Linked DNA regions of Homo sapiens: regions 1, 2 and 4 are each linked to region 3. Evidence: promoter capture Hi-C in 16 types of primary human blood cells and fetal thymus (Javierre and others, 2016). All regions are on one chromosome and are shown on one strand. The core of a region is centred on a gene start or on the middle of the fragment in contact, and the rest is flanking DNA. Distances in the headings are between cores, read along the strand shown.

What was found. Contacts are between HindIII fragments. The CHiCAGO score rates a contact against its expected background, and 5 or more counts as called.
Region 1: a fragment that was not itself captured here is called in contact with the fragment with the promoter of NKX2-1-AS1 in region 3 in 1 of 17 cell types (endothelial precursors); the score reaches 5.3 in endothelial precursors.
Region 2: a fragment that was not itself captured here is called in contact with the fragment with the promoter of NKX2-1-AS1 in region 3 in 1 of 17 cell types (M2 macrophages); the score reaches 5.0 in M2 macrophages.
Region 4: a fragment that was not itself captured here is called in contact with the fragment with the promoter of NKX2-1-AS1 in region 3 in 2 of 17 cell types (endothelial precursors and M2 macrophages); the score reaches 8.5 in endothelial precursors.

The regions. Positions count from the first base shown.
Region 1 is chr14:37,117,143-37,120,188 of GRCh38, reverse strand. The region is part of intron 1 of SLC25A21 (solute carrier family 25 member 21); the gene reads left to right. Among named protein-coding and RNA genes, the nearest start is that of SLC25A21-AS1, 53 kb to the left of the region's middle. The HindIII fragment of the contact is 943 bases long and covers 1,251-2,193 here.
Region 2 is chr14:35,877,634-35,880,585 of GRCh38, reverse strand. No RefSeq gene overlaps it. Among named protein-coding and RNA genes, the nearest start is that of BRMS1L, 53 kb to the right of the region's middle. The HindIII fragment of the contact is 8,468 bases long and covers 1-2,952 here.
Region 3 is chr14:36,518,028-36,520,975 of GRCh38, reverse strand. NKX2-1-AS1 (NKX2-1 antisense RNA 1) reads right to left here and starts at 1,698. Exons shown (of 2, transcript NR_103710.1): 1 at 1,297-1,698. NKX2-1 (NK2 homeobox 1) reads left to right here and starts at 744. Exons shown (of 3, transcript NM_001079668.3): 1 at 744-923; 2 at 1,606-1,991. The coding sequence starts at 847. SFTA3 (surfactant associated 3) reads left to right here and starts at 1,420. Exons shown (of 5, transcript NR_161365.1): 1 at 1,420-1,508. RefSeq lists enhancers at 1-328, 329-1,328, 2,487-2,948. The HindIII fragment of the contact is 5,756 bases long and covers 1-2,948 here.
Region 4 is chr14:37,149,100-37,151,898 of GRCh38, reverse strand. The region is part of intron 1 of SLC25A21 (solute carrier family 25 member 21); the gene reads left to right. Among named protein-coding and RNA genes, the nearest start is that of SLC25A21-AS1, 22 kb to the left of the region's middle. The HindIII fragment of the contact is 312 bases long and covers 1,280-1,591 here.

The DNA of each region.
Region 1 (3,046 bases), core at 473-2,972, 600 kb before region 3:
AAAATCTTCTCCTGAGCCTGATTTCATTCCATAGTTTACTTAAAGAAAAAGCTGTCTTGACGTTTTGAATTATTAAATTTAGAAGGTATAAAAATATTATGATTATTTTATTTCTGTGGTGAAATTTTAATATAATTCTTATGATTTATGTAAAGTATGTTCTTCTTTTGATAGATTCACAGAAATGTTTCCATCTTATTTTCTATTTCTAAAGTCTGAACATTGAATCTCCTTCTGCCACTCGTATCATTGTGGCAGATATCATATCATATCATTTTCACCTTTATCTTTAGGTAGGAACTTGCTGCCACCCTACCTGAGAACAGTGTACAGTAAGATCTTTGTAGTTGATGCTGTATTACATATTTACCTCTCTGTGAGCTATTTTCATTTTAATAGAGCTGAAATGGTTACCAGAAAGGGGTTCCCATCCAGACCCCAAGAGACGGTTCTTGGACCTCACACAAGAAAGAATTTGGGGCAAATCCATAGAATATAGAATAAAGTGAAAGCAAGTTTATTAGGAAGTAAAGGAATAAATAGTGGCTACTCCATAGGCAGAGCAGCGGCGTGGGCTGCTCAACTGATTATGCTTATAGTTCTTTTCTTTTCTTTTTTCTTTTTTCTTTTTTTTTATGGTGTCTCACTCTGTCGCCTAGGCTGGAGTATAGTGGCACTATCTTGGCTTACTGCAACCTCCATCTCCCAGGTTCAAGCAATTCTCCTGCCTCAGCCTCCTGAGTAGCTGGGATTATAGGCCCATGCCACCACACCACCACGCCTGGATAATTTTTGTATTTTTAGTAGGGATGAGGCTTCACCATGTTGGCCAGGCTGGTCTCGAATGCCTGACCTCAAGTGATCCACCTGCCTCAGCTTCCCAAAGTGCTGGGATTACAGGCATGAGCCACTGTGCCTGGCCTAGTTATTTCTTGATTCTATGCTAAGCAAGGGGTGGATTTATGAGTTTTCTGTGAAAGGGGCAGGCAGTTCCTGGAACTGAGGCTTCTTCTCCTTTTTCGACCATCTAGGGTAACTTCTGGATGTTGCCATGGCATTTGTAAACTGTCATGGCGCCAGTGGGAGTGTCCTTTAGCAAGCCAATGCATTATAATTAGTGTATAATGAGCAGTGAGGATTACTGGAGGTCACTTCCATCACCATCTTGGTTTTGGTTGGATTTGGCCAGCTTCTTAACTGCATGCTGTTTTATCGGCAGGATCTTTGTGACTTGTATCTTGTGCTAAGCTTGTATCTCATCCTGTGACTTAGAATGCCTAACCTCCTGGGAATGCAGCCCAGTAGGTGTCAGACTTATTTTACCCAGCCTGTGTTCAAGATGGAGTCACTCTGGTTCAAATGCCTCTGAAAAAACCTTTAAATTAAAAAAAAATTATTGTAATGGTGGATTTTCAGGAATCAATTACTAGGTAAGGAAACCATGGGAGTCAAGGAATAAGTATAAAAACCCTAAAGAAAAGATAGTCCAGGGAATTACTCTGCTTAAATTTAAGGTTGGTTTTATGTACTTCCTTAGTAGTTGTCTCAATCCTTAAATATCTTTTAAAATAAGAAAAATAAGTTGGACTATTATCAATAATAGTGTAACCACTCAATGGGTTCTTCTTACCCACTGCCCAGATAAAGCCAATTTATCAAGGCAGGGGAACTGCAATAGAGAAAGAGCTTTACATATTCAGAACCAGTTAAACAGGAGAGCGGAGTTTTATTATTACTCAAATCAGCCTCCCTAAAAATTTGGAGGCTAGAGTTTTTCAAAAATAGTTGGGAGGAGGCAGGTGGCTGGGGAATGGGAGCTGCTGATTGTTTGGGGGTACAATCACAGAGCTGTGGAAAATGGTCTTCCTGTTTGCTGAGTCTGCTTCTAGGTGGGGCCACAGGACTTGTTGGTGGATCTGGGTGGAGCCATCAGTTGTCAGAAATGCAAAAACCTGAAAAGACATCTCAAAAGTCCATTCTTAGGTTCTAACAATAGTGGTGTTATCTGCAGGAGTGGTTGGAGAAGCTGCAAATATTGTGACCTCTGGAATAATGGCTGGTAATCCATTACATCTGTACGTTAGTATAATTCGGGTTCCTACCATCCTCCTAACTTGGTGGCCTTTCATTAGTTTTGCAAAGGTGGTTTAGTTTCTGGGGAGGGCTATTATCATTTAAACTATAAATTAAGCTTTTTGGGAGGAGGGGAATCCATACAAAAAAGAATCATTTTGTAGTCTTAAAATATTTGTTAATTTAATAAAGTTTTTAAACTATCTTTAGTGATTGGACTTCCTACCAAAATGACAAAAAAAAAAAACAAACAAAAAAAAACTATGTTTGGTGAATTTTATGTATCCAGTAACTACTTTTTGCTTTGTGATCCTGTATTTTTATCCTCAGATTGCTTATGTATTTCTGCATTTAGGAAGGAGATGGCAGTATTGAGCCTTGGCAGTGACTTAACCCCACTATTTGAAGGAGCTTAAAAGTTCTTCATAGAGAGGTATCAGTTTCATCTCTTGGGATTTTATTTTCTACACTTCCCCCCTCTCCCTCTTTGTATTCCCATGTGGAGAGTGAAAAACGTACTCTAGTATATGTTATATTAGATCTGTCATACCAGGATACTATTAAATTACTTATTCTCATTTCTACACATCTAAGAATGCCGACTTAAGGGATGTATAGAAAAAACTCTCTTCTAAAATAAAGAGAGCCAGCTCTAAAATGCAAAAGTATGTTTACGATGTGCCTGTTTTCCTAAGGCTTTGACAGGAAGAATTAACTTTACATTTCCAACATACAAAACACTTTACTGAGCCACATCTTATGGTAAATAAACTGTGCTCTGGGAATAAATTTTTCACCATTTCTTTTTTAGGGCAATAAGCTACTGCTAAGAAAATGACTTTTTCTAGTGCTGATGCCCTGAAAAAAAGTTTAGATGATGAGAGGAATTATTTACTTAGACTCCATTCACAGCCACTGTTTTGCCTGCATTCCAAATTTCAAAAGGATGATTCATGTACCTTTTAGCTCTATG
Region 2 (2,952 bases), core at 292-2,791, 640 kb after region 3:
TGAGGACAAAATTGGGAGAAATGTGGGGCAAAAATCTACAACATGGTTATTATTTAATAGATAAATATAAACTATGCAGTTAGTCCTCCATATCTGTAGGTTTCACATCAGCTAGGTTCAACCAACCACAGATGGAAAATATTCAGAAAAAAAGAATAGTTTCATCTGTACTGAACATGTACAGTCCTTTTTTTCTTGTCATTATTTCCTAAACAATACAGTATAACAAGTATTTACACAACATCATATTGAGAATTACAAGTAATCTAGAGATGAATTAAAGGATGATGTGCATAGGTTATATGCAAATAACCATATTATATAAGGGACTTGAGCATCTGTAGATTTTGGTATTTGCAGGGATCCTGGAACCAATCCCCTGAGGATACTGATGGATGATTATATTTACTGCCACATCCCTTCAGAGCACTTTGATCTGTATTACAAGCTCTCATGTTCCCTTTTGTTTAATTACATACTTTGTTTCTACAGTAACTCTAAAGCATATAACCAGTTGCAATGTCCCTAAGCCCTTTACATGGTGAATTTTTTTCAGCTAATAAAGAGTAATAATAATATAATCCTTGTGTAGAGCTTTATCTTCTTCCTAAACATCTCTTAATTAGTATGCAACAGGATTAAATACAACTGAAGTCTCACTATACCATTTTGAATAATTAGGAGGAAAAATACAAATTCTAACCTAGGCACCTAAGTCTTGTAGGAATTTACTGCCACCTTCAGGTTTTAATGAAAATGCACTGGGACTGTAGCTTTTACATTTCCAGATGATAGTCCCTGGTTAATATAGTAGAAATATTAATATTATTTTCTGGCTTTAGAAGCAAAGTACTACTATCTAATTTAGATTGCAGTACAAAATGCATTCAGGAAATGCCTTTCGCCTTGTCTTTTTGTCTTTTGTGATTCTTTCAATAATGTGTAATTGAAAATTAAAGTCTGTTTTTTATCAGCCATTATAATTATATACTAGAAGTTCCCAGATCTGTGTCCAGAATGTACTTTGTATCATTGTCTAAATCTAGTTAAAAAAAAAAAACTATTACAGCAAACTGTTTTAAATGTTCCACGTGTCAATGCCTTCCAGCCAAAGGCCACCAGGAACACACCGGCAGTTGCACAAGTTGGGTTTCTTGCTCATTTCAGGGAGGGAGAAACCACACCATAGGGAACTGTGGATGTCTGAGTAAGAAGGTGTTAAAAGGGACTTATAGGATTTGGGCTTTTATTGGGAGATTTTTGGTAGGGTTTGAGGAAGTGGGCTTTGCTCTGGATAAAATGCTGTCAGGAAGTGGGGGCAATCCCATAATTTAGTATCTTAATGAGTTTTACTTATAAAGCAGGTGGAATGAAGTGAGGCTAATGCTATAATTGGTAAAGAAGCAGAAGTCATTCACATTAGCCAGAATAGGGGAATGTTCCACATTTTTTGTGGTTTGCAGACTGACTTTGTTTTTGTCTATATTTAGACAAGATGTTGTTGGGGTGGGCGTTGACCCCACTTCCTCACGGTCACAGAGTGGCCGTGATGTTGGTGTTCCGTGAGATTGTTTATGTTCAACAGAACACCAAGGCCTATCACGCAGTTCCTAGTTGTCAGGGACTGCTTTTCTCTTTCTCATGCATATATTTGTAATTCCATGAATACCTTTTTTTTTTAATTCCTTGACTTTGTGCTGAAATTATAAAAGTTTGTGATGATTTTCAAAGTGGATATCAACAGAATATGAAGCTCTAAGGATGCATCATAAATGTTGCAAGGGTGTGAAATCCAGCTCAAAATCGTTTGGAAAAAGGGGAATTTATTAGAAGACCCACATAACACAAGGAAGACCGGAGTGCAGATGGACTATGAGTCAGCTCATAGCACGAGGCTAAATGCCAAGAAACTCCCCATCCACCTCTCATCTCCTCAGCTGTCTCCACAGGGCAGGAAATGTCATTGCCTATAATTTCCAAACTTTATTGTCCCAGTTCCAACATAAGAGGGAGACTGATACTTTTTCCTGCAGTTATAGTTTAAGAGATCCAAGAGAAGGGTTTTAATTGGGGCAGGCTGAGTTACACGTTCACCTAGTGCACTCAACTAGGACCAAGAATTGTGCAGTATTAGAGAAAGAGGTGTTCTCATTAGAACCACACAGTCAGATCAGGGAAGAAGCATTTCCTGGAAAAAGTAGAATTGAAGTTCTGGGTAAGCAAAAGATTTGAAAAAAAGATTTAAAGCTGGGAGGAAAAAAAAATCAGTTCTGGGTTCTAGAAATGTAATATTTGCTATAAAGAGAAAAATTAAAATAAAATAAAAAGAGAGAGACCCAGTTAGGCCATCACAATTATTTCAGTAAAATATACCAGAGGCTTGAACTAGGGCAGCACCAGTGGGAATAGAGAAAAGAGAATGCTTTCAGTTAGAAATGTTTCAGAGTTAGAATCTACAGGACTAGCTAATTCCACAGATGTGAGGAGAAGTCAAATTCATCAACAGCCCTTACATAGGATTTATCATGTAACATGCCCTGTTCTACACACTTGACATATATTCATTAAGTCCTCACCACAACCCTATGAAGTATTATTTCCATTTTCAGATGGGGAAATTGAGGCACAAAAAGGTTAAAAAGTTACCCAAGGTTGACGGGGTGCAGTGGCTCATGCCTGTAATTCCAGCACCTTGGGAGGCCGAGGCAGGTGGATCACCAGAAGTCAGGAGTTCGAGACCAGCCCGGACAACATGGTGAAACCCTGTTTCTACTAAAAATACAAAAATTAGCCAGGCGTGGTGGTGCGCACCTGTAATCCTAGCTACTTGGGGGGCTGAGGCAGGAGAATCACTTGAACCCAGGAGGTGGAGGTTGCAGTGAGCCGAGATCACACCATTGAACTCCAGCCTGGGCAACAAGAGCGAAACTCTGTCTCAAAAAAAGAAAAAGA
Region 3 (2,948 bases), core at 449-2,948:
TTGAAGCAGAATGATCCTCATCTACTAATATCCAGCGTGGCCACAAAGCGACTGGCCATTTACGCCACCACTTTAAACAAAGATATTTGGTTATTCCCGGGAAGCAAGAGCACTTTTGCATGGCTGAGCTGCGGGCGGAGGCGAGCCTCGGCCCAGCCTCCCGCCCGCTGAGCTGCCCGCACCTCGGCATTCGCCCCCTCCTGGCCAGCGCTCCAGCCGCCGGGGTTCAGGCTCAGTTCCGCCCGGCAACAGACAGACGGGCACTCACGCCGCTCCCTGCTCGCGCGCTCCCTGAAGCATCAGAGGGGAAAACAGCGTGGCTCTGGGCTCGGGTGCTGGGGCTGTGATGTCCTCGGAAAGTCAGCTCCAGCCCCAGATCCCCGCGTGTCTGGGAGATGGGCGAGGGTCAGGGACACCAGGTTTGTTCGAGGTGGGGCAACTTCAGTGACGGACCCTCCCGTGAGACCCCTTCCCATCCTCCCAGCTCTGGGGGCCAGTGCTGTGTTTGCTCGGCCGGGGGTGGGGGGGGGGGGGGAAGACCTTGGGGGAGGCGTGTTAGCGGGGGTGGCCCACTGAAAAACCCCTGAGCTGCGGGGGCGGGTTGTGGCTCGGGGATCCGGGACAGCCTCCGGGAGGCAGTCGATCCCCTACTCAGCGCCCCCTCCGCCCGCTCGGATTCTCTCCGGTAGGGGGAAAGGGGGCGGGGAGCAGAGGTGTCCCTCTGACGGCGGCAGAAGAGAGGCAGACAGACTGACAGACACGTAGACCAACAGTGCGGCCCCAGGGTTCGTCCCCAGACTCGCTCGCTCATTTGTTGGCGACTGGGGCTCAGCGCAGCGAAGCCCGATGTGGTCCGGAGGCAGTGGGAAGGCGCGGGGCTGGGAGGCCGCGGCGGGAGGGAGGAGCAGCCCCGGCAGGCTCAGGTGAAACCCCCACCCTGTCCCTCAGCCCCCTCCTCCTAAAGACCTGTCCGTGCCCGGGGAACCCCGACCGAATTGGAAAGTGGTTCCACTTTGTAACTCCGCAAGTTGGTTGCAAAGCAGCATTCACCTTCCTTCCTCTCAACCATCTCTCCTCCTCTGTTACTCCCCCACCCCACCTCCTGCCCTCCCCGCTCTCGGTTCCCTCCTCCTTCCCCTCCCCTCCACCTCCTCCCCGCGCTCCGCTGGTACCCCACAAAAAATGGGGGTGGGGGTGTCCAAGGGAGGGGGGAAATGCTTTGGGTCTCGTCTCTGCCTCTCTCTCTCTCTCTTTGAGACCTAAAAATCCTGACAAGTGAAACTTAAAGGTGTTTACCTTGTCATCAGCATGTAAGCTAATTATCTCGGGCAAGATGTAGGCTTCTATTGTCTTGTTGCTTTAGCGCTTACGCCCCGCCTCTGGTGGCTGCCTAAAACCTGGCGCCGGGCTAAAACAAACGCGAGGCAGCCCCCGAGCCTCCACTCAAGCCAATTAAGGAGGACTCGGTCCACTCCGTTACGTGTACATCCAACAAGATCGGCGTTAAGGTAACACCAGAATATTTGGCAAAGGGAGAAAAAAAAAGCAGCGAGGCTTCGCCTTCCCCCTCTCCCTTTTTTTTCCTCCTCTTCCTTCCTCCTCCAGCCGCCGCCGAATCATGTCGATGAGTCCAAAGCACACGACTCCGTTCTCAGTGTCTGACATCTTGAGTCCCCTGGAGGAAAGCTACAAGAAAGTGGGCATGGAGGGCGGCGGCCTCGGGGCTCCGCTGGCGGCGTACAGGCAGGGCCAGGCGGCACCGCCAACAGCGGCCATGCAGCAGCACGCCGTGGGGCACCACGGCGCCGTCACCGCCGCCTACCACATGACGGCGGCGGGGGTGCCCCAGCTCTCGCACTCCGCCGTGGGGGGCTACTGCAACGGCAACCTGGGCAACATGAGCGAGCTGCCGCCGTACCAGGACACCATGAGGAACAGCGCCTCTGGCCCCGGATGGTACGGCGCCAACCCAGACCCGCGCTTCCCCGCCAGTAAGTGAGGCCGCCCCACTGCGGGGCCGCGGGCTGAGCTCAGGAGGTGCGGCGAGAGCCGTCCAGAAGGCGCGGCGCCGGCAGGCTGCGCGCTGGGCATCAGGGAGGGCGGCCCGGCAGCGGCGCCAGGGACTTGGGTGCGGGAGCTGGGGATGCTTCCCCCTGCTCGGCTGGGGGTCCAAGAACAGGCACTTGGTAGCGCTGGGGTCCTGCGGTCAGATGCGGGTACTCGGCGTCTCCTAGGCGCGGTGGACTGGCAGCTCTGCTCGGCGCAGAAGACCTCGGGGAGCCAAGGGAAGCGACCCCGAGCTCAAGGAGCAGGGGCGAGCAGAGCGCGGAGAGGCTAGACCGGGCCAGGAGGGAGGCTGCCCTGTTGGGAGGCACTCGAGCGCCCGGCCCGGCCCTCTCTCCAGCGGAGTCTGGGCAGGTGGGAGGACTCGCAGTTCCAGAGGGGACTCTAAGGGTCCGAGCAGGTGCCCTCACTGGGGCCTGACAGGAGAGAAGCCAAGAGGCAAAGCGTCTGGGGGCTCCAGCTTTTGGAAGTCAACACCCCCTCTCCTAACCTCTCCAAACTGGGGTCTACCGTAGGACCCCAGCTCCCGGCCTGAGCCCAGTTCGCCGCCTGTGGCCAGCTAATCCTAATGCTCTGACCCGGGCTGGGCACGAAAGGAGCAGAAGCGGCCTTTCCCCCACTGCGTCTTTTGGTTCGAAAGAGGGAACTGAGACTGAGGGAGGGCAGCCAGGGTTGGGGCTGTGAGCGCTCCAGTACAGCCCCCTCGACGGTACGGCCTGGGGCAGGCGCTGGCAGTTCCCCGCGGATGGGCCTCTTGGGCCCCAGCGCTAGGCTGCCTGGGTCAGGAGGGCGCCGTCGGTTGGGGCGGGCCGGGCGGGCCAATGGCGCGGAAAACAGGGGTGGCCTGGCTCGGCCTGGCCCCGGCCGACGCTGTGCGTTTGTCG
Region 4 (2,799 bases), core at 186-2,685, 630 kb before region 3:
CCTGCCCAGCTAATATTTGTATTTTTAGTAGAGACAGGGTTTCACTATGTTGGCCAGGCTCGTCTTGAACTCCTGACCTCAAGTGATCTGCCCGCCTTGGCCTCCCAAAGTGCTGGATTCCAGGCATGAGCCAATTTGTAATTTCTTGAAGATGAGGAAAGTGAAGCTCAGAGAAATTAAATATCTTGTTCAAGGCTGATGACAGACACAGACTCAAACTCTGCTCTTTGCTTTCAAAGCTTGAGCTCTCATCCATTACTCCACCCTGCCTCTTAGTGTGCAGAATGAGAAATCAGGTAAGCAGCCCCTTCAAGTATTGCCCCCATAAGTCTTCTTTTTCTCTCTGGTTATGTTAAATACCACAGCTTTTTCTTGAACTTGAGTGTTAATGAACAAACAGGGTCTGCCCTTGTACAAAAGTCCATTTCTTGTTTTTGCAGATTTTTAAATGCCAGCCATAGCTTAAGTATGAAATTCTCCATATTAACCAGCAGTGCCTCTGTTGGCATTAATGCGGCATCTTTTTTTCTGCCAGATGCTACAGGCAATTGGTCAGGAAGTGGGCCAAGCCTCCACCCTCACGTATTGTTAACTGAATTCGCACACAACTAATAAGATACTGGTGTGACTCAGTAGAGTGAGAGCAACCCAAGAGTGGACAGGAGGGGCCTGTCTGAAAAAGGAGGGAATCTTAAGTCGCATGTAATTTAATGTCTGTAAAAACTAGAATAGACTACTGTAGGGAGAACGTATAGCCTCCTCTTTGGAGAAAGAAGAATGAAATTCAATAGAACTCGATAGAATTGGATGACACCTAAAATAGAATCATGGCCCAAAGTAATTTTGCAGAATGAAGAGAAAGAGAGAGAGAGAGAGAGAACCTACCAATGTGCTAATATTTCTTGAAAAGTTACCAATATTTATCGACCATCAAGTATGCCAAATCAGAATAATACAATTGTGAAAAACATTAGTTTTTGTTCTGATTGCTTGAGGCTTCTATTGCTGTTATTATCACTATCATTTTGGGGCATGATTGTAGAGGCAGGTTAAAGCACTTTGGAGTAAATTGCAAGATCCTCTCCAGAGATCTGAGAATGAGCAGCATTATTTTGGAGCGTCCGCCTAGGACAGCACATTTGATTGGCTAGTTTATCACAGTGGACATTTATATCTGAAACTAAGATTACTATTCTGTACTTGTGCAGACCTATAGATGGCGCTGTCTTCCTATAATTTTGGTGATTTGCTTTTTATTTTCTTTTTAAAAGGAAAAGCTTTCTGCAGATATAGTTAGATCTAGAAGTGTGTTAACTTCTGATTACATTCCACTATTGCAAAGCATCTTTGCCTTGCATAGATCATAGAGAATTCTACACTTGAAAAATACAGACTGTACTTTGGGAATTAATTTTTCTTTTAATTGTGATTCATACCTGTGTATGTATGGAAAAATGGGTTTATGTATATGAGTAAGAAAGAGGGATGGAAGAAACTGTTTTTATTTGTATAATATTTATTTTCTTTATGTTGGTTCTTGCCGTAAAATTTGAATTAGAGTCCTGGATAAAATAGAAATCATTGATAAGCTTAGGATAAATGTCATAATTTCTTGTAGATCTTAGAGATTACCTGAAACTCCTAGATTCCATAATTTTGTTTTTCAAAGTTATTAGGGCTAGGGTATGTATTATAGTCATAATAAATTATAAACATCTCTAAACAGGAGCTACAGTGCCAAACACGTAGGTTTTATTTATGTATCTGGGACTCAAATGCCATTTCTTGTTTTAATTCAGTGGCCTTTAACATAAGAAATTGGGTATATGTATGAATAATAATTTTTCTTGAATGTAAGTTCTAAACAGGATTTTTTTCCTTCAACCCTACTCCTTCTGTAAGGAAAAAGTTTTAAGTATGATACATATTATGTTGTGGATTTGGTTTATGAATGGGAAATGCCAGAAGTGCTTGCTTCTGTAATCAAACTTTAACCACAAGATGGCAGTATAACTTTCCCATGTCTTTAAAAAATTTTTAAATAATTACTAAATTAAATTATTTTTTCTCTCTTAATGAGAAATGTATACAGCTAAGGGATTTCAAGATAGTTCTAAGGAGGATGAATATTGAAGGTACTGTACTAAATATAAGAAATATTAAAGACTATTTAGTGATTATTTATTTATTTTTTGAGTCTTGCTCTGTGAGTCAGCCTGAGTCTGTGCCCAGGCTGGAGTTCAGTAGTGCTGTCTCAGCTCACTGCAACCTCTGCCTCCCGGTTTAAGCGATTCTGCTGCCTCAGCTTCCTGAGTAGCTGGGACTACAGGCGCCCACCACCATGCCCAGCTAATTTTTGTATTTTTAGTAGAGATGGGGTTTCAGCTTCCCAAAGTGCTGGGATTGCAGGTGTGAGCCACCGTGGCCGGCCCTAGCGGATTTTTTTTTTGATGGAGCAGTTTTTAGTTGCCCTAAGAAAACATTTAATTTATATTCTGTAAAGTTGAAATAGGAATATGATATGAAAATGGTAAGCAACTTTGTTTTACAGAGCAATATAGTTTCATTAGGTTTGCCTCATAAAGCATCAAGAAAGTGACAGTAGATTTTCTGTTTCTTTCATGTGTTCATGGACATCTGCATTGGTGTATACCTTGTATTTTGAGCTCATAGCTGGAGATTAGAAGTTCAACAAGAAGCAAGGAAGGGAAGAAAAAGAGAAAAGTAGAGGCACTGGCATCTAAGTTAAAAAAAAACAGTGGTGATAATGATGTCTATGTGATTCTTGTTGGCTTCATA